Regions from separate parts of the Homo sapiens genome. Here all the other regions are linked to region 1. Evidence: promoter capture Hi-C in 16 types of primary human blood cells and fetal thymus (Javierre and others, 2016). All regions are on one chromosome and are shown on one strand. Each heading gives the region's core, a stretch centred on a gene start or on the middle of the fragment in contact. The rest is flanking DNA. Distances are from core to core; before and after follow the strand shown. Region 1 holds the start of ANKRD63 (ankyrin repeat domain 63). Region 2 overlaps SRP14-DT (SRP14 divergent transcript). Region 3 overlaps BMF (Bcl2 modifying factor). Region 4 has its middle 18 kb from the start of BUB1B. Region 5 has its middle 9.3 kb from the start of BAHD1.

Region 1 (4,659 bases), core at 1,385-3,884:
AGTGCTGAAAAGAGAAGTTGAGTCATAAAGGGAAGAAAAGCCTTTCTTCTGCTGAGTAAAGGAGAGCATTCCTGCCCAGTTACTGGGGGTGGAGAGTCTCTATCCATTCCTGGGGGCCACCCCAGAAGGGGGCCCTAGCTCTGGGGCGGGAGCAGCTTTGAGGGCTGCACTCTAAATAACTATGCAGCTCTAGAAAACAAAACAAAACAAAATAAAAAAAATGAAATAACTATGCAGCTCTTTCCCTGACACTTTCTAACTTGTTCTTGTGTAAAGCAGGCAGGGCTGGTATTTATCAGTCTCATTTTGCAGCTGAGAATATGCAGGCTTGGAGCCACACTGCTAGTAAATGCCTTCAAGCTGGGACTTAACGCTGATGTCAGATCTGTGGCCTTTTCATGACACCAGGAAAGAAAATTGGCAGATCCCTGACCAAAGGCTTAACAAATGCAAAAAGAGAAAAGGGGGGCTTCGTAGTGGATGCAGGTACACATCACACGCTCCTCACGTGACAGAGGGGAGTGGGAGCCTCTGCTCCATGGCCTGGGTGCCAAATTCAAGGTGGACATCCCCGGAGCCTGGGAGCTGGAGAGAGGCAAGGGGTTCAGGGTGCAGGGCCATGAGCCCACTTTGCCACGCCTATCTATGCCCAGTACCTTTCCCCAGGCATCTCCTACTCCAAAGCATCTGCTCAGACTGAGAACACCATCATTCTTCCCTTATTTCCTGTCTCTGATAGGAAGGGACCCCTTAAAGCAGCCCTCAATAGTGTCCCCTGAAGGTTTATCCTGCTTCCAAGCCTTTGCCTCCAGAACCCGTCTGGAATTACTTCCTTTTTTTTTTTTTTTTTTTTTTTTTTTTGACGGAGTCTCACTCTGTCTCCAGGCTGGAGTGCAGTGGCGTGATCTCGGCTCACTGCAACCTCTGCCTCCCAGGTTCAAGCAATTCTCCTGCGTCAGCCTCCCAAGTAGCAGGGACTACAGGCGCGTGCCACCGCGCCCAGCTAATTTTTGTATTTTTAGTAGAGACGGGGTTTCACCATGTTGGCCAGGATGGTCTCGATCCCTTGATCTCGTGATCCGCCCGCCTCGGCCTCCCAAAGTGCTGGGATTACAGGCGTGAGCCACTGCACCCGGCCTGGGATTCCTTCCTTCTTTCTTTTGCAGCCAGATCCCGCACATCCTTGAAGGCCTATCTTTAAAAGGCCCGAGAGCCCTCTCCTGCCCACAACTCCATCTTTTCATCCAAGGACTGTGTTGGTACGTATTTAGCAGAAGAATTCAGCCCTCAGGTGACAACGTCCATTTTTTAAGTCCCAGTGTTGTCTTCTTAAGAGGTGGAACGTCTCGCACCCAGAACCGAGATTCTGTCTCTCTCTTACCCGCTGCCGGCAACAAAATGTGCGGCTCATGAAAAGTCTCAGTAAATTCTGCAGCTGATAACTGCTTTACTCCTTACTTTACAAATATCCATTCCAACCCTACTCACACCCTCCCCACCACCCACACCCAGGCTCTGAGGCGCCCTAACTCTGCTCCGCCCAGGCCTGTGTATCATCCCCCCTCCTCCAGGACCGAGGGGGACCTGCTGGCCGGAGGGAGAGGAGATGCAGTGGTTTCTCCAAGCATCTTACGGAAAATGGAACTTGTGCTCGCCTCCTCTCTTTAGGGGTCAGCCAGTGGTCAGAGCCAGAGCCCTGTGGCCTGGGGGTTGTTTTGTGCTCAAGGGAGAAGCGAGGGGCAGGGAACCTCGAGTGGGTCCCTAGCTCTTTCCAGGGTGGCGGCGCCAGGGAACTTTTAACATGTCCGCGGCACTCCCGGGTCCTAAGGAGCCCCTCCCTGGTCTGGGCGTCTACACTCTGCCCGCTAGGCAGCCACCAGGAGCTGGCACGCGGGCGCGTTGTCGGGGTTGGAGACGTCTGAAATTGGAGAGCGCACTCGGACCCCACCCCTCGTTCCCAGGGAGCGTGTGCGGGTGGAACAATTGTGTGTGAGTGCGTGATTCTCTGCACTTCGAGTGGCAGTTCCCAGCCAGGCTGAGCGCCCCCAATCCGCGGCACGTATACCCCCTCCCCCAAATTACTCCTCATCCGCCTTTCGCTGCCACCCCTAGCTCGCGCGTGGTCCAGTTCTGCGCTCATGGGGTCCCAATTCCTTTCACCCTGGACCGATGGGGGCAGCTTTCAGTCTTCCCCGACGAGGCCGAGGTCCCGCCAGTTTCTAAGGAGCCGAGGGCACCGACTCGGTTGGGGGCGGAGGGCGGGGAGAGAAGACTGCGACTTTGGGATTGGCCCGGTTGGGTGCATGTGGCCCCCGGCGAGCAGCCCCCGCCCCCGCCCCGCAACCGCCGCCGCATTCCCAGGGGAGCGCGGAGGAGGAACCGCTCCCCTACTTCGTGGCCCACGAAGGGGTGGGGGTCAGGAGCGGTCTCCCCCGCCCCGTCCGTCTCTGCCCTGACGGCGCAGTCCGCTCCCAGGACAGCCATTGCCATGGAGACCCCCAAGGCTATAAAGTCAGGTATCTAGGCGGGCGGCAGCTCCCGCGCCGCTGAGCCCCCCAAGTAAGGAGCAAGCGCCCTGGCGTGGCCCGGCCCCCGCGAGAGGGGAGGAGGCGGAGGAACGGCGCCAGCAGCTTGAGGAGCGGCGCGCCCCGCCAGGGCTGGAGGCAGGCGTGCACGGCGGGCGCCACCGTCGCTGCGGGGGAGCGGGGGCTGCCCTGGGTGCGGGTGAGTGGCACGGCGGCTCCAAACCACGAGGACTGAGGGGCGCCGGACACCGGGAAAGCGGCGAGAGACTCGGGAGAGGGTCGAGTCTCTGCTCCCGACGTCTGGTGGCGGGCCAGGAGCGGAGCCCGGAGTAGCGAGCAATCAACACCTCCAGGCGGGAGGCCCGGGGAAGGAGCGGCGACACGCCAGGCGTGCGGCCCAGGAGCGGCGGGGCAGTCGGAGCCTCCGGGACAGCGGAGTAGGAACCTCGGGACCCTCGGCTGCAGCCGCCCACGCGCGGAGGGAGAGGTATCAGAGCGCGGGCGGAGGCCGGAGCCCCGCGGGGCGCGAGAACAGGGGCGCCCCCGTGCGGAACTGCCAGGCTGCCCGGGCGCGGCGGCCGGGGCCATGCTCAAACCCAAGGACCTGTGCCCCCGAGCGGGGACGCGCACCTTCCTGGAGGCCATGCAGGCGGGCAAAGTGCACTTGGCCCGCTTCGTGTTGGATGCGCTGGACCGCAGCATCATCGACTGCCGCGCGGAGCAGGGCCGTACGCCGCTCATGGTGGCCGTGGGGCTGCCGGACCCCGCGCTGCGCGCGCGCTTCGTGCGGCTGCTGCTCGAGCAGGGTGCTGCAGTGAACCTGCGAGACGAGCGCGGCCGCACCGCACTCAGCCTGGCGTGCGAGCGAGGCCACCTGGACGCCGTGCAGCTGCTGGTGCAGTTCAGCGGTGACCCCGAGGCGGCCGACTCTGCGGGCAACAGCCCGGTGATGTGGGCGGCGGCCTGCGGCCACGGGGCGGTGCTCGAGTTCCTGGTGCGGTCCTTCCGCCGCCTAGGCCTGCGCCTCGACCGCACCAACCGTGCGGGGCTCACCGCGCTGCAACTGGCCGCCGCCCGCGGCCACGGGACCTGTGTGCAGGCCCTCACCGGGCCCTGGGGCCGCGCCGCCGCCGCCGCTGCGGCCCGGGGCTCCAACTCCGATAGTCCCCCTGGCCGCCCGGCCCCCGCGGCCAGCCCCGAGCATCGACGACCCAGCCCCCGCCGCCTCCCGCGGCCTCTCCTGGCGCGCTTTGCGCGAGCGGCGGGCGGCCACGGCGGCGAGGCTGGCTCAGCGGGCAAGAATTCGGGCCGGCACCGGGCGCAGGGCAGCGAACGGCCCGAGCTGGGTCGGAGCATGAGCCTGGCTCTAGGTGCGGTAACCGAGGAGGAGGCTGCCCGCCTGCGGGCTGGGGCCCTGATGGCCCTACCAAACTCGCCCCAGTCTTCGGGGACTGGGCGGTGGCGCTCACAGGAGGTGCTGGAGGGAGCGCCCCCAACCTTAGCGCAAGCCCCCATTGGCCTCAGTCCCCACCCGGAGGGCGGCCCCGGCTCTGGCCGCCTGGGTTTGCGCCGACGCTCCACAGCCCCAGATATCCCCAGCCTGGTCGGGGAGGCGCCAGGGCCCGAGAGTGGCCCGGAGTTAGAGGCCAACGCTCTGTCTGTCTCGGTGCCTGGGCCGAACCCTTGGCAGGCGGGCACCGAGGCTGTGGTGCTGCGTGCTCAGCGGTAAACGGCGCCAAGGCCCGAGGCCTGCTTCCCCTACCCTCCCGTTTCTACTCCACTGGTATTTCTCTCTTCTAGGTCCCTCACCTTTTCGGCAGCCGCCCCCCGCAGTCCATTTTGGAACCTGCCTCCCTGCCAAGGCGAGACCTCCACCAGCCCTCCACCAGAAATAAGGGACCTCCATCTTCTTTTTTGTGCTCCTCGGTATTCCCTGCCTAGGTCTAGAGGTGTCGATTGACTGGTTCCGTAGGCTACAGCCAGGAAGGTGGATTCCCCCTCCCCAGCCCTCAGGCTCAATCCTGGGTCGGCCTAGCCATCTGTCGCTCCTGTCCGGCCCCCCTCCCCTCGCTGGGTTTCCCAACAACTGGGCAGCCAGGTAAATAGAAGGGTCCACCTTGGAGAATAAGGACCC
Region 2 (4,659 bases), core at 1,059-3,558, 240 kb after region 1:
ACCCCAGTCTCTATAAAATAATAATAATAATAATAATAATATAAAGCTCTTGTTTTGTGTTATATTGCCCTAGTCAACTGCAACCTGGTCTGGGGTAGGAGGAGGCAGGGGGCCAGGGGGTGAGGAGGGCTGCTGAGCTGTGTGATGTCTCTGCTGGGCTCCCAGCCTGGCTGATGGGGGTTTATCCACCCCGACCTGGGAGCAGGTGTGGGCCCTCTGTCCCCAGAACTTCTTGAAGAACAGTTTGTTCTGCAGGGTGCAGCCAGGGTAGGGGGAGAGTTGCAGATACCAGTACAGCCCTGGAGCCCGTTGCAGCTGCTTCCTGTTGTCAGAGGGCTCCTCCACCAAGGGGCTGAGTTCCTTGACACCTCCACGCCCCTGCCTAGTTCTCCGTGTGGTATCCTGCCTCAGTAGGCCAGCAACTTCCCACGGATACCAAGGAAGGCTGTGTTCAAGTAGCAAGAGCTCAGAGTGAGGAAGTGCCCTGTGGCCAGGCACATTTCCAGCCTCGTGGCTGACCACCCCTGGTGCAAACAGGGTCCTGTCCTCACGTATGCAGGTTGATTTCTGCCTTGTCTTCCTTTCCCTGTCTGAAAGATCTTTCCCATCCTGTCTGCAGAGTCAAGTTCTCCCCATCATTCTCGGTTCCATCTCTTCCCCGAAGCTTTGTCTGCAGTGACTCCCTCCCCACCCCCGCTTCACTGGCCATACTGGACTGTCCAGCATGAGAGTGTGGGCCCTCATTTCACACTGCCTTGTCTTGTGGTTTGACATTTCACCTAGGTTTGTTTTGTCTCCTCTTCAAGACTTGAAGACAGGATGATTTGGGTCCTTAACCACTGCCTCCTACTTCAAACGAGATCCCTTACAGAGCTGAGCTCAGAGCCGACCCTGTGTGTAAGGGCATAATAAATCCTGGCTGAATGTCCCGTCTCAGTGTCTCTGTCTTGGTTCCTGCCTGAATTTCAGTCAGCTGAGCCACAGTTCACCCCAGACCCTGTAGCATCTTGGGAGGAGACATTTGGGCTCCTCTGCCTGGTAGTCACGTTGCCTCACTGCAGGAAGTGACCCAGGCCTTGCCGTCTCCCAGCTTGTGGGCCTTCTTGCCTCCAGGTTCCCCTCTGACTAATCATGAGAGTGCTATGGGGCTGACTGGAAGCGACCACTCCTGTCCCAGAAGGGACTTCCCCAGCCTGAATGCTTGCAGGTGGACGGCAAGGGAAGGGGGATAGTGCTGGTAATATGCAAGGTGGTGCCCTCGTCCAGTTCCAGGGACACAGCTCATAGAACACTCCCAAAAGGGGCTGTTCAGCCTGTCTCCATTCTTGCAGCTCTCTTCACCCCAAGCCTCAGGCCGGGCCTGGCTCGTTGTCCCTGGGGGGTCTGAAAGGGGCTGGAGTGGGGGTGGAGTGAGCAGCAACCCGGGACTCTCAGCTCAGCGCTTTTCCCCCCATTGTGAAATGGCCTTGGATAAGGGCCAAGCAGGAAGCTGCCTCCTATAGCTCCGTGGCCTGGCGCCTGGGGTGTGAGGACGGCCCCAGGCCCTTCCCTTCCCAAGGGAGGGCTGAAGCTGACACACGGAGTCCACCTGCATGGAGACACTGAGCTGCCCTTGGCTAAGTCATGAGGGGCCTATGCCCTCCCTCCTGCTCTCTGTGCCAGCTAGTTTGTGGCAGGCAGAGGGGTGTGTGGAAAGTGCATGGGCCTGGGGCTCAGGGCTCGGGGCTTCCAGTCTCACCTTTGGCATTACCAAGCTTTGTGATCTTGGTCAAGTCATTTTCCCTCTTTGGACCTCACTCAGTTTCTATTCACTTGTGAATAACTAGCAGGTAAAGGGTTGGACTAAAAAGGTCTTGGAGGCCTCTTCCAGCTCAATATTGTGACTCACTGAAGTCAATGATTCATTGATGTTATTACTGGGACTTGGCTCTGATCAGATGGGAGTTTCTTCATTGTGTCTGTCTAGGATTCCCTGTGTAAATCTGCATCTGTGGGTCTGTCACAGAGGTGGAGTGGGCTTCCCCGAACAATCAAGGATGAATGATGACACAGAGGCCAAGAGATGAACAGCATCTGTCGCTTTGGGGAGTCGAGACACCTGTTGGGTAATTTGTGCAGAACTCTGGCTATATAATTTCCTGTCCTTGACTTTCAGACAGGAAACTTTAAATTGGGGACCCCTAATCATCCTGAATAAGGGAGCCCCTCCCCCACCCACTAAACCCATGAAAGTGTGGGGAGGAGGAGGGCAGGAATAGGTGCTCATGCCCCAGACTTCCAGCCTGGCTGGGAATAACTACGCTTGCAATAACTATGCTTGCCTTTCCTGGCCTCAGTTTCCCCTCTTACAATATGGGGTATGCTGGCCCCCTTCTTGAGGTTCAGCAAGGAAGGAAATCCTAGATGAGAAGGGGAGAACCTCTTAAAGTTCACACACATTTCTTGAGTGCCACCACCTGATTCTGTACAAGGATGGCCTTCCAGGCATGTGGGGCCAGGGGCTGCCCATGGAGTGTAGCCTAGAGGGTACTGGCAATTCCTTTGTATCTCCCCAAAGCCCCTATACCAGAAATCCCACCATTAGAGTCTGTTCTTTGTTTAACATCACCTAAGTTTCCTCCACAAATGGAGGGCGTGTGACATACTAACCATTTGTCCTGAACATGTTCGTGTGATTTAGCTACCAGATGGGTTGCCTCCACACAGCTAGCTGAGCTTAGTGAGAGACTGGGATTTTGATGGGGAGGGAGGGAGGGGTGTTTTGCACGACCGAATATTTCTACTCAGGGTACTGCTTGAGAAGGAGAGGAAAAGAACAATGAAACCTAGCTTTTCTGCCATGCTTTCTCACGTATAAGCTTTTATATTCACATTGTCACACTGAACTCACCACAGCAGTGTGAGGAAGATCTTCCCATTTTACAGCTGAGGAAATGGAGGCTCATAGAGATTAAGATGACTTTCCTTCAGAGATACAGCCAAGAAATGCCAAGTTGGACCTGGAATCCAAAGACAGGATTAAGGAGACAGGATTCTGCATGGGAGTGGGAGGGGGACAGGGGCTTGGGATAGGAACCCACACCCAGAGGGAGGGAAAGATGAGGAGTGGAGAGAGAGTCCCAGTTTGTTCCACTCTGCCTAGAGCTGGTCTCTTTTCTGCCTTCCCTCCCTTCTTGTCACCTCTTTGGACAGCTGAAAGACAGCTGAAAGCTCAGCACTCCTGAGCTGCCCGCAGGCTACACTCATTTGCAAGTGCTTCTTCGCACAGAGGTGGCAGGCTCCTCAGCTAGAACAACGCTCACCTCACAGGACTATTGGGGGCTCAAAAGTGGATACATGTAAGCACCTAGAAATGAACCTGGCACTTAGTAACTTCTCAATAAATATAAGCAAGCTATTATCTGAGAAAAAAATAGTCTCTTCTCTAGTGGAGAAGTCAGTCAGCTTCTTGCACCTAGAACAGTGCCAAACACTGCTTGTTTAGCCTTGTTCAGTGAATGGATGAATGATAATCTTTCTGTAACACGGAAAGTTCTAGCCTCCACAGAAGTAATTTTGAAAAATAATGACCACGATCTTGGATATTCTTAGGGTTGATCTAAGGTAAACGACAGGGCAAGATCTGGGAGTGGCTGAGGCGGTCGCCCATGGCTGCGCTCGTCTGGTGAGGCCAGGGCGTCCCCTACTGGCCCAAGACGAGTCACAGGCAGGTCGAGGCCACTCCTCATCTCTGCGATGGCGCGTGGAGGGAGGGCGTGGTGGCGTTGCTGCGAGCGAGGGGAAGGCCAGTGTTAATCACTGACACTTGTGGGCTCCGGAAACTTCCCTAGGGCCCCCAGAAGGGGCTGGGGGGAGAAAAGCAGCAGTTCTAAGAATTTTGGAAGTAGAAGTGACATTAGCAATCTAGCCTAAGTCCTGAACATAACAGTGAAAATACTTTAAAAAATACATCAACTGGGTGTTTACTATGAGCCCTTTACGTGGATTATGTCCTTGAAAGCCGACAACAACCCTCTGAGGCAGGTTCCCTGTGGAGGATAGGGCGCAAGCAAGTACCTCGTGCAGGGCCTCACAGCAAGTTGGGGAGCAGGGTGAGCCTGGGGTCTCTGACTCACAGTCCAGGGCACCTGTGCTGTCTCTCTAGGACACTGGGGCTTGGGATTTAAATCCAGGACTTCATCCTGGGGTGGGGATGGAGAGAGTTCCTGGAGCCCTGAGTTGGCTGAGCAGATACAATGAACACTTGTTGACCAACTGACTGCAGAAAAGAATAAAGGAATTGGGAACTGCCAGTGTTGGAGTGGATTCAGTCCAGGGAGTGTGTTGACGTGTGGCTTCAGGGTGTTTACTCTCTCCGGGCACCCAGGCTTCTAGGACACACTCTCATCTCCCTCCGGCCACTCCTCTGGCCTTCTCTAGGATGGCTCCACCAGAGCTAACCACCTCCCGCTGACGTGGGAGGTCTCCCAGCCTTAGGTTCTAAAATTTGTCATCCCAAAGCCAGACCTGCCCAGTGCCATTCCTCGATGTGTTTAGATGATACCCTCCTTCCTTCATCCAGAACTGACCCTTAAATCAGCACACTGGAGCTACGGTGAGGCAGCTCAGAGCCCAAGGTATAGTTCCCCTCAGACTGAAACTGAAAAGTTAAACTAGCCC
Region 3 (4,659 bases), core at 1,446-3,945, 180 kb after region 1:
CCTCAGACCCCCCAAAGGGCAAATTGTCCCCTCCTGGAGGGATCCTTGGGTCCATGGTATCTCCTTTTACATCTTGTGCCCCTTGAGTGGCCTGGCCTTTAGTGTCCTAGCAGTGACTTGCCTACTATAAAGTGGCTCCTGTTGCCCTGGAGAAGTCTGGGGGATCTGTGACTGGCTGTTGACAATGAAGGGAAAAACCCAGCCGGTTCTGGGAGGGAGGGTTCCCAAAGGCAGAAGGTGGCCCCCAGTTGCCACATGGGACTTTCTGTGTGTGAAAGGGGAACTGGAGAAAGAGGTTGGGCCTGCCTGGGCCCAATGCCAGGAGAGGGGATGCTTCCAAGGCTAAGACAAGACCCCTTCATTTGTGGGCTTAAATAGTTTGTTTTATGAGAAATATGCCCTCCTCTGGCAAAAGGGCAGGGTTAGACAGTCTGTTTTCTTCTATTAGCACTGCAGCTTATGGAGGGAGGGTAAAGGCTAGGAGCGTGGCTTACTGTGTCTGACGAGCTGATTGAGGAGACACTGCAGTTACTCCCAGAGGGAACTGCCCCTTAGGGCAGTTCTGGCAAAGCAGTTCTGGCGGGAGTCTGAGAAGTTGGATAAGGCGGGCAGGCGGGGAAGAGGGAAAGGAGCGAGGAGCCCGGCGGACTGGCGCCCCTAGCGGTGGTTCTAACGCGTGCACTGGGTAAGTGTGGAGCGCTGGTCTAGAGGTCTTGCCTGGGGCTGTCTCCGGAGAGCAACTTGGCAGCTCTGTGCGTCTCAGTTTTCTCTCCCTCTTTTTGTGCTGCTGCCCAGGAGCTTCGGGAGACCAGCCTTACTCTACTGCACTAAAAAAGTGAAGACACTTTTTGATTTTTTCTTGCTCTGCCTCTTACTTTGCTCAACCCAGAAACTGGAGAGCTACCTCCAGTGCTTTTCCAGAGAAGAGCTTCAACCTGCTACTACGTGAATAACCAACTGTGGTTAAGGGTAGCTTGATAAATAAGGACGGAAGGCTGGCATGTTCGCCTGCACACGTTACCACCTGCCCTTTGTCATGGCACTGTCAGTGAATGGAGAAGCGAAGAGAAGGCTGGGGCCATTCTTTCTGTTCTGCAACTTTTATGCACTTGGGCAGCAGGCTGTCCAAGCTTGGCAGAGTGCTCCAATAGAGGCAGGCTGGCTCCTATCCTTTCTCATATGAGGATTTACCCTCAGCCTCCAATCTTGGCCAGGTCAGGCAGGCGTAGGGAGGTTGGAGCAGTTGTGGAGAATGCTGAGATGTGGATCCTCTATCTTTGCAGGCAATGCTGGCTATCGGCTTCCTCTCCCTGCCAGTTTCCCAGCAGTCTTGCCCATTGGGGAGCAGCCCCCCGAAGGGCAGTGGCAACATCAAGCAGAGGTACAGATTGCCCGAAAGCTTCAGTGCATTGCAGACCAGTTCCACCGGCTTCATGTGCAGCAAGTAGGCACGGGGGTTTAGGGGAGGAGGGTTGAGTCTGCTGGGGCTTGGGGGCCAGGGCCTGCCTCTCTCCTCTTGTCAGCAACTCTGTCTCTGCCAGACCTCAAGGATATTGTCCCAGAGTTTTGGTTATGGCGGTTCCCATGGGCAGGAGGGGCCTAACTGGCTAAGCATCTTGCCCTCATCTCTGAGCTCCACATTGGTTAACTGCCCAGTCTCAATTCATGTTCCATAAGAGCCCTCTCGGGAGAGGCTACAGTCTGGGAATAGGATGGCTTTCTGCAGCTCTGCTTGACAACCTGTCTCTTCTTATGGCCGTGGCTGAGGGGTTGCCCCTCACGGACCTAAGAGGAAGATTTTCCGGGTGCTGCAATGAAACTGGGCAGTTGGGGGGTGCCTGGCTAAGGTACAGTGGGAAACGGGTAACCAGGCCAAGGGATGGGGCCTGAGTTGGGGAAAGTGGTGGAACCGGTTGAAACCTGACACTTTCCAGCTGGGGAGGCCGCTCCTCACTGTCTCTGTCTGGGAACCAGGGTCTGGGACTCCGGAGAGTGTACCTCGGAGAGGCTCCCCAGACCGGCGGCCAGCCGGGCGCTCAGCCGGGCGCTTGGCCGGCAGCCTGGCACCAGCCCCGCCAGGGCGGGGCATCACGTGTCAGCCGAGCATGTGGCAGAGTCCATCAACAAAGGCGGCGGCTGGCAGGCTCGTGCTGGAGGAGCCCTCTGTGCCATGGCCTGGAGGCTGCCTTCCCTGTTCCAGCAGCCGCTGTCTGGGCTGGGTCCCCAGGCACTTAACCCTTCCTCTTCGGGCTGGCTTTCTGGATGGCTGCCAAGGCTGGGAGAGGAGCCTGAGGCTGCATCCGTGCTGGTACAGCCACAGCTGAAGCACAGGCATGCCACCTGGAAGCGAACACATTCTGTACTTCTGGGACTGTGTCCCCAGCCCAGCTGGCTCTGAATGTGTGTTTGTGTGTCTGACTGCGAGGAAATCAAGGGAATAAATAGCTTGACCATGACTGGGCAGACTCCGAGGTTAGAAGGGTAGCTTCAGGTGGTCGGAGGAGAGCTATTGGTAGGTTGACTTAAGGGTCAAACCATTACCAGTGCCAGGGGAAGAGGAATTGACCTTGGCTTTCCTAAGAACAGGACATTGCGGGTTACATATGGTTAGTGCCCTCTGCCAAGGAGTTCTAAGGACAGTTTGGGGCCAGGTCTGGGCCTGGTAAGTCCTCCCAGTCCCTTAGTGATCAGGAAGGGAGGGTGGCCCTATGCTTAGATAATAGATCTAAGCTCCAGTTCTTACTCTCTCCTTTGATTATTTGGTGGAAACTTGGCTTCGAGTTTCCCCTTCAGTCCATGTGTGGACTCACTCTGATTCTTGTTTTCAGTTTCTTGGCCTCCTTCCTGCCCATTCACTCCACCGTGGTTGTACAGGCCTACGGCTGAGCCCAGCTCACAGCTTCCAGTCCTGGTACTGGAGAGGATGGGAGGACACAGTGGCTGTGGCTCTTTTAGACTCATCTAGCGGGCTCCGTGGAAGGCAGCTTGCTTCATTTGCAATAATCTGATCTCTTTCACCAGTTATTCCCCAGAATATTCCCCCATCCACTGGTGAGCCTCTATAGGCTTGGGAATAGGCCGGGAGCCCTCCCTGGCACAGGACTAGGATACAGTCCTGGGGGCCCTCCTAACTTGGTCCTGAACAGGAGGAGGAGGAGGCCCTTATCCCAAGGTCTGGCCCTGATTTTTTTTTTTTTTTTTTTTTTTGGCTCTTTCGCCCAGGCTGGAGTGCAGTGGCATGATCTCGGCTCACTGCAACCTCTGCCTCCCCAGTTCAAGCGATTCTCCTGCCTCAGCCTCCCGAGTAGCTGGGATTATAGGCACGCACCACCACACCTGGCTAATTTTTGTACTTTTAGTGGAGACGGGGTTTCGCCATGTCAGCCAGGCTGGTCTCGAACTCCTGACCTCAGATGATCCACCTGCCTCGGCCTCCCAAAGTGCTGGGACTACAGGCGTGAGCCACTGCGCCTGCCTTGCCCTGCTTTTTGCTGGTTGGCATCACTTCTCCCAGTTCAGAGCTGCCTCTTTGCATGCACAGGTTAGTTTTAGACAAGGTGTTGTGCTTTTAGCCAGAGCCACCCAAGCTGGGGAGAAGGAAAGTGGAGGTGCAAGGCATGAGAGTCTCCTCTGCCTTGCACCTTACTCCACACTGGCTCCCAGGTTTCCTGTACCCCTACCCTCCTGCCATCTACCTACTTCTTACTTACAAGGGTAGGAGGCTGACCAGTGAGCCTTTTCTAGCTCAAAGAGCTGGTTTTCCCAAATTTTCCAGTACAAAGAGCCAGGGTTTTGTCTTCTCCTTAAACAGTTCTCCCCAGAGTCTTCTTGCTTTTAACCCCCTCCTCCCCACTGACCCTACTTATAGACCTTCACCAGGAACTCATCCTGCAGGAAGGGCTAAGGTGATGGCTTCAGGCAGGTGGAACACTGGTACTCCTGGAACGTTTCAGCAGCTGGTTTTGAGAAGTGAGTCATTTTCTAAGCTTGATTCTTATATAAACTACAGTCTAAGATTTCATATCTAGAAAGTACTGTTGTCACTCCTCCATTCTTATCCTTTATCTTCTTTCCCTATTCCCTTCCCTCATTTTTGCAGGCAGAGAAACTGAGGCAGTGGGAAGGAGGTTATTTAGGATTTAGTTTCTAGGCTTTGGGTTCAGAGTCAGAAAGCCCAGGTTTGAATACCAGCTCTGCCATCTACTAGTTTTCAGGAAGTCACTTGACTTCACTGAGCCTATTTCCTCTTCTATGAATTAGTGCTAATACCACAGAATTTTACTGTGATAATTAAGTGAGAAAATACCTATGAGAGTTTGGGACACACAGTAGATGTTCTTTAATGCCTGTTTCCTTCTTTCTGTTTATGATCCTGATCACCCCCGACGTTTGTTCTTGTTGGTTCACAATTCATTTCCCACTCCACCTGGCAGGGGACTCCCTGAGCAGAGCTGCCTCCCCTGAACTTCCCTCCACCTGCCTGGTCCAGAGGAATTAGTGTCCAGACTGATCATCTGTGGACCTTGGCCTTATCGATTTCTCTTCAGGGAATGATAGTCATTCCCCATCATTGCGGGCTGGATTTAGAGAGCCAAGAAAAGCAACCCTAGAGGCAGATGGGACTTGAGGAGGCCTGACCGTCACCTTTCCCCTACATCT
Region 4 (4,659 bases), core at 1,043-3,542, 140 kb after region 1:
TTGACCTTTTGTGTGTGTGTGTGTGTGTGTGTGTGCGTGCGTGTGAGAGAGAGACAGCATCTTGATCTCTTACCTAGGCTGGAGTGCAGTGGCACAATCACGGGTCACGGCAGCCTCAACCTCCTGGGCTCAAGCAATCCTCTTGCCTCAGCCTCCCAAGTAGCTGGGACTACAGGAATACACCACCATGCCTGACTAGTTTATTTTTTATTTTTTGTAGAGACTGGGTCTTGCTGTGTTATCCAGGCTGGTCTCGTACTCCTGGCCTCAAGCAGCCCTCTCACCTCAGCGTCCCAAAGTGCTGGGATTATAAGCGTGAGCCACCACATGCAGCCTCTAGTAGCTTTTTAGCTATACCTCTTTGTTTTATTTTTAATAATTGCTCTAGGGATCATAGTGTGCATCTTTAACTTGTTAGAGTTTATTTTGGGTCTACATTATACCACTTCACAAATAATTTAAGAAAATTCCATTTTACTTCCATTTGCCCCTTCCATCCTTTGACTATTATCTATTCTACTTGTGTGCATGTAATAAGTCCCATAATATATGGTTGTTATTTGTGTTTTTAAAAGCCAATTGTCATTCAAAATAAATTAAAATAGTCTTCTATATTTACCCACATACTTACCATTTGCAATGCTCTTCATTCCTTCTGGTAGATCTGAGCCTCCAACTGCTATCATGCTATCTTTTCTCACTAGCCTGAAGAACTCCCTTTAGTATTTCTTTCTTTTCTCTTTTTCTTTCTTTCTTTCTTTCTTTCTTTCTTTCTTTCTTTCTTTCTTTCTTTCTTTTCTTTCTTTCTTTTTTCTTTCTTTCTTTCTTTCCTTCCTTCCTTCCTTTCTTCTTTCTTTTCTCTCTCTCTCTCTTTCTTTCTTTTTTTTTTTTTTGCTTGCTTGTTTCTTGTGATGGAGTCTCCCTACGTTGCCCAAGTTGATCTTGAACTTCTAGGCTCAAGTGATCCTCCTGCCACAGCCTTCCCAGTAGCTGGGACTACAATTGCACCCAGCTTTTTTAGTATTTCTTGAAGTACATGTCTGTTGAAAATTATTTCCCTTAGCTGTTGTTTATCTAAACATATCTTTATTTCTGTTTCATTTGTGAAAGCTATTTTTCTTGGACAGAGAATTCTATATTTTCTGGTTTTCTTTTCATGTATGTCATTTTATTGTCTTCTGGTTTGCATTGTTTTTAAAGAGAAGTTAGGCATCATTTTTATCATTGTAATGTTCCTTTTTTCTCTGGCTGCTTTTAAGATTTTCATTTTATCTTTGGTTCAACAACTTGACTGTGATGTGTCTAGATGTGTTTTTCTTTGTATTTACCCCACTTGGGGTTTGACGACCTTTTAAAATCTGTAGGTCTGCCAGGTGCGGTGGCTCATGTCTGTAATCCCAGCACTTTGGGAGGCCAAGGTGGGCAGATCACTTGAGGTCAGGAGTTCGAGACCAGCCTTGCCAACGTGGTGAAACCCCGTCTCTACTAGAGATACAAAAATTAGCTGGACATGGTGGCGCACACCTGTAGTCCCAGCTACTTGGGAGGCTCAGACAGGAGAATCGCTTGAACATGGGAGGTGGAGGTTGCATTGAACTGAGATTGCGCCACTGCACTCCAGCCTGGCTGACAGAGTGAGACTCTGTCTCAAAAAAAAAAAAAAAATTAGTTTAAATCTGTAGGTTGATCCTTTTTGTTACATTTTAAATTTTTCACTATTATTTCTTCCTGTAGAAAAACAATTGGTGCTATTTGTTCTCTTTCTGAGACTGCAATTACACAAATCTTAGGACAGCTGCTGTTATCCCACAGGTCACTGTACTGTGGTCATTAATTTTTTTCTCTCTTTTTATCAGTTTGGATACTTTTGATTGGCTTGTCTTTAAGTTCATTGATGCTTTTTCTGTGGTGTCCAATTTGCTATTAAGCTCATCCAATGAATTTTATATATATATATATATATATATATATATATATATATATTTAGTTCATATATATATATATATTTAGTTGTAGAATTTCCATTTGGTTCTTTTTTAGAGTTTACATTTCTTTACTAAAATAACCCTCTCTTCAACCATCATAGCTATCTTTTCCTGTGAACTTTAACATATTCATATTAATCGTTTTAAAGCTTTTGTCTGCTAACTCCAATAACTGGATCATGTGTGGATCTGCTTCTCTATTTTCTCTTGATTATGGATCACATGCTTCTTTTCCTTACTCTCCTGTTTCTCAAAACTGTATTCCAGAAATTTTGTATAAAAGAACAGTAGAAATGAAAATATATCTTTTTGTTTACTTCTCAGAAATTGCAGTTCCTTTCCCCTGTCTGGTGGTTAGGTTGAAGCTGATCACTGGGACTCCTCGGACAGTGGAATTGAGGTAAGGCTGCACTGCAGCTTTAATTAGATTGTGTTCACCTGTAAGTAGCCCAATCCCAAGCTTCTGCCTCCTTTTCAAGTTGTCAGTAATTGAGCTGGGTGGGGGTAGCGTACAGATTCAGATCATTTTGATTCAACTTTGGACTCTACTCCAGCAGGGCCCCAGAATCTAAGCAGGACCGTGTCATTACTCTCTGCTTTCCAGCCCCTTCTCCAGTGCCACAGTTGTGGCAAAGTTCAGGAATGGGGGTGGGTGGAGAACAGAGAATTATCGGCCTAAATGACCTGCTTTTATATTGGGCCTCTTCCAGATTGTCATCTGTCTTGCCAGCCCATGCCGCAGCTCGCTGATTTCTTCTTATCCTTACAAAACCCCTGCCTATGGCATGTTTCTCCATCCACCTGTAGCCAGACCAGGCACATCCTCAGGTGTGAAAGCTGTGCTGACCTTCTGCTCATCTATAAAGGGCTTGTTTCTTTGTGGAATTCAACTCATCAAGGCCATGCCTGCACTGCTCAGTAGAAAAGCACGATTTTTATTTTTGTCTAGGTTTTTCTTGTTGATAGCATTGTAGCAAAGGCTTTTCATATATTTCTACATCCTAACCAGAAGCGGAGCTCTCCCAGATGTTAGAGGAGCAGTAAGGAGGTCAATGTGTCTGGAGCAGAATGAGTGAAAACAGGAAGAAGAGATGAAGCTGGAGAGGTGACCAGGAGTCAGTTCATGCTCAATCTCACAGGCCACTGGAAAGATTGGCTTTTACTTTGCATAAGATGGGAAGTGATGGCTTTTGAGCAGAAGAATGACAGGGTCTTGTATGGGTTTTAACAGGAGCACTGTGGCTGCCGGGATGAAAATAGTCTGTAAGAGGCAAGGGAAGCAATAGAGGGATCAGTTATTGCAACAATCCAGGGAAGGGATGGTGGTAGCTTAGATTGGTGTGGCCATGGTGGAGTGGTGAGTCTGAGTACATTTTGAAGGCAGAGACAGCAGCGTTTATTGACAGATGATATGTAAAGTATAGGGAAAGAAGAGGATGACTCTAAAGTTGTGGTCTGAACAAGCAGAAGGATGGAGTTTTCTTACTCAGATGGAAAGACTGAGGAGAGTCAATATCTTGGACCATTTGTGCTGCTATAATAAAGTACCACAGACTGGGTCACTGATGAAGAACCAAAGTTAACTTTCTGACAGTTCTGGAGTCTGGGAAGTCTAAGATGAAGGCGCTGGCACTTGGCAAGGGCCTTCTTGCTGCATCATTATATGGAGGAAGGCGGAGGGGCAAGAGAAAGCAAGAGTGGGTCAAACTTGCCCTTTTATAATGGCACCAGTTCTACCCATGAGGTTGGAACCCCCATGGCCTAATCACCTCTTAAAGGTCCTACCTCGTAAGACTGTTACAATGGCAACTGAATTTCGTGAGCTTTGGAGAAACATTCAAACCACAGCAAGTAGGTTTGTGGGAAGTACTCTTTCTTTTTTGTTTTTTTGAGACGGAGTCTCGCTCTGTCGCCCAGGCTGGAGTGCAGTGGTGCGATCTCAGCTCACTGCAAGCTCTGCCTCCTGGGTTCACGCCATTCTCCTGCCTCAGCCTCCCGAGTAGCTGGGACTACAGGCGCCCACCACCACGCCTGGCGAATTTTTTGTATTTTTAGTAGAGACGGGGTTTCACCGTATTAGCCAGGATGGTCTCGATCTCCTGACCTCGTGATCCGCCTGCCTCAGCCTCCCAAAGTGCTGGGATTACAGGCGTGAGCCACCGCGCAAGGCCAGTGGGAAGTACTCTTATTTTATTTTATTTTATTTTTAATTTTTAAATTTTTATTTATTTATGTATTTATTTATTTATTATTATTATACTTTAAGTTTTAGGGTACATGTGCACAACGTGCAGGTTTGTTACATATGTATACATGTGCCATTTTGGTGTGCTGCACCCATTAACTCGTCATTTAGCATTAGATATATCTCCTAATGCTATCCCTCCCCGCTCCCCCCCACCCGACAAAAGTCCCCAGCGTGTGATGTTCCCCTTCCTATGTCCATGTGTTCTCATTGTTCAATTCACACCTATGAGTGAGAACATGAAGTGTTTCGTTTTTTGTCCATGCGATAGTTTGCTGAGAATGATGGTTTCCAGCTTCATCCATGTCCCTACAAAGGACATGAACTCATCCTTTTTTATGGCTGCGTAGTATTCCATGGTGTATATGTGCCACATTTTCTTAATCCAGTCTATCGTTGTTGGACATTTGGGTTGGTTCCAAGTCTTTG
Region 5 (4,659 bases), core at 622-3,121, 150 kb before region 1:
CCTACTCAGAGAGCCCTGTTGCATTCTCATGCCAATCTCTAATAGTACCTTCATTATTGCCCCAGGAGCAGATGTTTACTGAACACACTCCAAGATCCATGGACCCAGGCTGGAGACGAAAAGGGAAATTAAACATGGTCCAGAGTTTGTGGGCTCTTCTAGGTGACTCCTGAGAACATGGCATGATACCTGGCAAATAGTAGTTGCCTAATAATGCTTGGTGAACTGAATAGTAAACAATTGGTAAATAGAAACTGAATGGATAAATACACAGAGAGGGGAGAATTATTCCAAGAAACATGACATTTCTGTGATGATCTAGGTTTGGGTTGCTTGGGACCTCAGCTTCCAGGGTCACCTCCTTTACTGTTACCAGAACACTTGTCCGCTCAGATATCAACTTGGAGTATGACTTCTCCCCTGAGGAACTCCCAGTGCTGTGGACTGGAAGACCAGGGGTGCATCCACTATGTTGGTTCCTTTATTCCAGACGTACAGACCCCTGGGAAGATGAAGAAATCCAGATCTGGAATGGGCAGTGTATTGAGAGCCTCCAAAGCCGGCAGGAGGTCCAGAGGGGGCAGGTGTCTCTTACAGAAGGCATGAACAGGCACTCAACATACGTTTCTTTATTTAACCCTCAAGAACTCTGGTAGGTAAATGTACTCTCAAATTTACAAACAAATGAGGAAACTGAGACCTGGAGAATCTAAGTAACTGCCCAAGATCACATAGGCTTGGAGTGGCTCCAAAACCTTTGCTTTTTTTTTCATACGGCATTTAACATATAAAATAGAGGTCTAACCCTTTATATGTCTAAAAGCTTTCTTCTTTCTACATTTCACATAGCGTAGTGGTTAAGAATGCAGACTTTCTGAGTACAGTCCTGGCGCTACAGTGTCTTAAAACATATAAAGTACTTAGAATAGTACCTGATGTAGCCACAAGTGCCCCCAGAACATTAGCAATTGTGAATCTATTTCATCATGCCCAAATCTGGCCATGCCTGAAGCCTGCCCTGCTTCCATACTGGAATCAGTCTTCCACCTCTGTTTTGTACTCCTTGTCTCCCATCTGGAGCTCTGACAATGTAGTGCCTGTGGCTGTATTCTGTCCACCCAGCAGTGGGCCCCACTCTGGCTTCAGTCAGGCAGGATGGCTCCCTTTGCTGGGTTTGGAGGAGAGGCCAGCCCCTCTTCCCATGGCTTCTCCATTCCATCCTCCCAAGGCCAGGGCCCTAGCCATTTCCCTCTTCGGGAAAGATTCTCTGTGGCATCCCTAAGCACATTCCTCAAGGTGAGGTAGTTCCATCTCCTACAGGCTCTCAGCCACAGCCACTGACCTCTCTAGTCTTGCAAAACCCAGAGCAGAGGAGAGAATCACCTGTGGTTCTTTTGCCATCTTCACTTAACCTCAGTGAACCCACAGCAAGAGCCAGGACCAGCCCTTTCCAGCAGACACCCTCTGGGGGGACTACAGTCTGGGCCACAAGTATGGTGTTAACCAACCATGGTGCCACCTGTGCTCTGCACTGTGCAGGCACCAAGAAGACTTGGGAGGCCATGCAGACAGCATTGCTTCTGACCTAGGAAAGCTACTCCACCCAGCAGAGGCGTGATCCTCAGAAACTGAAGAGCACATCAAAGAGTGTATGACCTAAGCAAGACTGGGCCAGATGATTAGTAACTGGAAAAGTGACATCAAGACTTAGATATGATAGGCCAGGCGCAGTGGCTCACACCTGTAATTCCAGCACTTTGGGGGGCCGAGGTGGGCGGATCACTTGAGGCCAGGAGTTCAAGACCAGTCTGGCCAATGTGGCAAAACCCTGTCTCTACAGGTGTGGTGACACGCATCTGTAGTTCCAGCTACTCAGGAGGCTGAGGCATAAGAATCGCTTGAACCTGGGGGGTGGAGATTGCAGTGAGCCAAGATGGAACTATTGCACTCCAACCTGGGTGATGGAGTGAGAATCTATCTCAAAAAAAAAAAAAAAAGACTTAGATATGAGAGGCCTGACAATTTTTCCCCTTGATTTGTGAATATTATACTATATTTAAAAATCTAATAAGGGCATTTATAAAAATTACACTTAGTTATATAGACAACAACTCTTCTTTGTTGAAAGGGATTATGGGAAATCAGCAATTGCCTTTTTCATTGCTTCCCTCTGTCAGGGTGTATTCTGTGATAGGTAATGTTCCTGGAGAGATTCCATGAGTTAGGCACTGTGTTAAGCTCTTTACACATAATCTTTTTTTTTTTTTTGAGATGGAGTCTTGCTCTGTAGCCCAGGCTGGAGTGCAGTGGCGTGATCTCAGCTCACTGCAAGCTCTGCCTTCCAAGTTCACACCATTCTCCTGCCTCAGCCTCCCGAGTAGCTGGGACTACAGGCGCCCGCCACTGTGCCCAGCTAATTTTTTGTATTTTTAGTAGAGACGGGGTTTCACCATGTTAGCCAGGCTGGTCTCGGTCTCCTGACCTCGTGATCTGCCTGCCTCGGCCTCCCAAAGTGCTGGGATTACAGGCGTGAGCCACTGCGCCCGGCCTACACATACTCTTAATCCCCAGCCAGTCTTATGAAATAGATAGTGTTATTATTCTCATTTTACTAATGAGAAAACTGAGGCATAGAGAGGTTCGGTAACTTCCCAGGGTCACATTAATAATAGTGGAGCCGGCTGGGCACGGTGGCTCACACCTGTAATCCCAGGTCTCAGGGAGGCAGAGGTGGGAGGATAGCTTGAGCCCAGGAGTTCGAGACCTGTCTGGGCAATAAAGCGAGACCCCGTTCTCCACAAAAAGGAAGAAAAAAAAAGACAAAAAAAAAAAAAGCGTAATAATAGTGGAGCCAGGGTTTACATCCCAGCCTTGTCACTTTTAATGATTTCTCCATCACTTCTTCCTAAATAAGCTTCCCCAAACAATTCTCTACTCTTATGTTTTCCAAATGTCTGTTAGCAACTCATTCAAATTTTACACATGAAGTTGCTGTGAGCAACATTCATCTCACTGTTAGATTGGGGGCAAAATGTTGCAAGTCGATTGTCATATTTCTTTATAAAAAGATATTCCTTTGGCAAAGCCGTTATCAAAAGTACCCTTTCCCTGCCTTCTGCACTCTCTTTGACACTGAAACATCAATATGGTCTTTCAAGAACATCAGATACACTTCAGCCAACTTCCAACTACAAGCAAACTCAGTGTTCTCCCAATGTTTCCACTGTGGGGTGCACTGGCAGTTTTAAGAGTCAAGAACCTTGGACTCATCCTTGGCACCTCCCTCTCCCTCCCAAGCCGCCACCCATAGCTAATCCATCACCACAGCCTGTCATTTACTGGAGTCTCCAGCCTCGAATCTCCTCCCACCTCTGTGATCAACCACAGCCCAGCCTCCCGCATCCACTCTGCCCCAGTCAGAGGGATCTTTCCAAAATAGACTGCCTCATAGCACTCTCCTGCTTAAACCCTTCCGTGACTCCTGCTTACACTCAGCATAAAGATCCAAATCTGGAACTGACTATTGTTGCCGCCCCAGCCAGGAGGCTCCTCTGATCTCATCTCTCGGGCTCAGTCACACTCCGCAACCTGCAATGCTCTCCTCCTAGCAAGCCTGGCAAGCCGGTGATTCCTGGCTAAGATCTGCCTCCCCGGCTAGGCTAGGGTGAAAACCACATCTGCGTCTCCCTGGGTCCTCCTGTTTCTCCATGGCCCACAGGGTACCTGCACATGATAGGTTCTCAGTAACAGCTACTCAGTGATGAATGAATGGCAGAGAAATCAAGCCTTTGCCTGTGCCGCAGCGGCTCTGCACCCTGACTGCTCTGCCAGGTGGCCACAGTGCTAGACTTCCATATTAGCTTAGAAAACTACCTCTTGCAGCCACACTGCGTGCCAGGCTCTGCCTCCCTACCTTTAAACACACCCATCCTGACCCAGTTTGCCTGTTTTCAGGAGTGATCACCAACATTTGTACTTTTTGTGACTTGTACATATTTTTACTATAAAATGTCCTGACCTGATTCATTCAACAACTGGATAACAATTGGTTATGGGTTTGACAAGGAAGACTCATTGAAATCTGGAGGCATAAAAGTTACAGTTCTGGCTTCGGCAGTCCAGATGGCTTCCCTGAGAAGCTAGAGGCTGCGGCCCCAGAACTCTGTTCTTTTAGCTGCCACTAAAAAGATGGAAGAATTTAGTTCAAGGCGAAGCCTTGAGATTCCCCCCTGCCCACTCCTGCCCTCCCAGCTCCAAGGCCGCCCTTGATGTTTTATTTAAATCTGATTTCATCTAGATAAGGTTGGTGGAGGGCGAAGAAGTTATCCTCCCTGCAGCCTGCCCCCGCCCCCTGCTTTGCATTCATTATGCAAGTATTTATTTGGAGGGAGAGGGCCTCCACTGAGCCAAGTGCAAAGTGCTGGGGATACGGCAGCAAACCAGAGACAGGTGGGCGTGTAGATGGGTTAGTGCTCATGCTGGGTCTTAAAGAATGGGTAACATTAAAATTGGAGTAATTGAGATGTCTCATAGTTTTTATGTCTATCTCCCCAACTAACTCGTAAACTTTTTTGGCCCCGTACTGTTACTAGTCTTTGAATCCCTGGCACCCTGGGACATAACAGTCCCTCAGCAAATGCCAGTTCTTAACTGAGCAGG

Evidence for each region. The method cuts DNA at HindIII sites, captures the fragments that hold promoters and counts their contacts. A CHiCAGO score of 5 or more calls a contact.
Region 2: a contact is called between a fragment that was not itself captured here and the fragment with the promoter of ANKRD63 in region 1, in 16 of 17 cell types (activated CD4 T cells, naive CD8 T cells, total CD8 T cells and 13 more). The highest score is 69.9, in activated CD4 T cells.
Region 3: a fragment that was not itself captured here is called in contact with the fragment with the promoter of ANKRD63 in region 1 in 7 of 17 cell types (M0 macrophages, activated CD4 T cells, naive B cells and 4 more); the score reaches 10.9 in M0 macrophages.
Region 4: a fragment that was not itself captured here is called in contact with the fragment with the promoter of ANKRD63 in region 1 in 2 of 17 cell types (M0 macrophages and naive B cells); the score reaches 5.6 in M0 macrophages.
Region 5: a contact is called between a fragment that was not itself captured here and the fragment with the promoter of ANKRD63 in region 1, in 4 of 17 cell types (M0 macrophages, total CD4 T cells, activated CD4 T cells and 1 more). The highest score is 6.5, in M0 macrophages.

What each region holds. Positions count from the first base shown.
Region 1 is chr15:40,281,039-40,285,697 of GRCh38, reverse strand. ANKRD63 (ankyrin repeat domain 63) reads left to right here and starts at 2,634. Exons shown (of 1, transcript NM_001190479.3): 1 at 2,634-4,659. The coding sequence starts at 3,112. The coding sequence ends at 4,254. It also overlaps a transcript of PLCB2 not described here. RefSeq lists silencers at 2,673-2,742, 2,813-2,872, 2,883-3,152. The HindIII fragment of the contact is 15,046 bases long and covers 1-4,659 here.
Region 2 is chr15:40,044,301-40,048,959 of GRCh38, reverse strand. SRP14-DT (SRP14 divergent transcript) reads right to left here. Exons shown (of 3, transcript NR_040060.1): 2 at 2,891-2,999. Among named protein-coding and RNA genes, the nearest start is that of SRP14-DT, 7.3 kb to the right of the region's middle. RefSeq lists enhancers at 987-1,116, 1,457-1,586. The HindIII fragment of the contact is 1,104 bases long and covers 1,757-2,860 here.
Region 3 is chr15:40,100,965-40,105,623 of GRCh38, reverse strand. It overlaps BMF (Bcl2 modifying factor), which reads left to right. Exons shown (of 5, transcript NM_001003940.2): 4 at 1,284-1,444. Among named protein-coding and RNA genes, the nearest start is that of BMF, 5.6 kb to the left of the region's middle. RefSeq lists enhancers at 1-32, 1,257-1,822, 1,823-2,387 and a silencer at 532-724. The HindIII fragment of the contact is 2,587 bases long and covers 1,402-3,988 here.
Region 4 is chr15:40,140,562-40,145,220 of GRCh38, reverse strand. No RefSeq gene overlaps it. Among named protein-coding and RNA genes, the nearest start is that of BUB1B, 18 kb to the left of the region's middle. The HindIII fragment of the contact is 311 bases long and covers 2,137-2,447 here.
Region 5 is chr15:40,429,304-40,433,962 of GRCh38, reverse strand. It overlaps a transcript of IVD not described here. Among named protein-coding and RNA genes, the nearest start is that of BAHD1, 9.3 kb to the left of the region's middle. The HindIII fragment of the contact is 2,091 bases long and covers 826-2,916 here.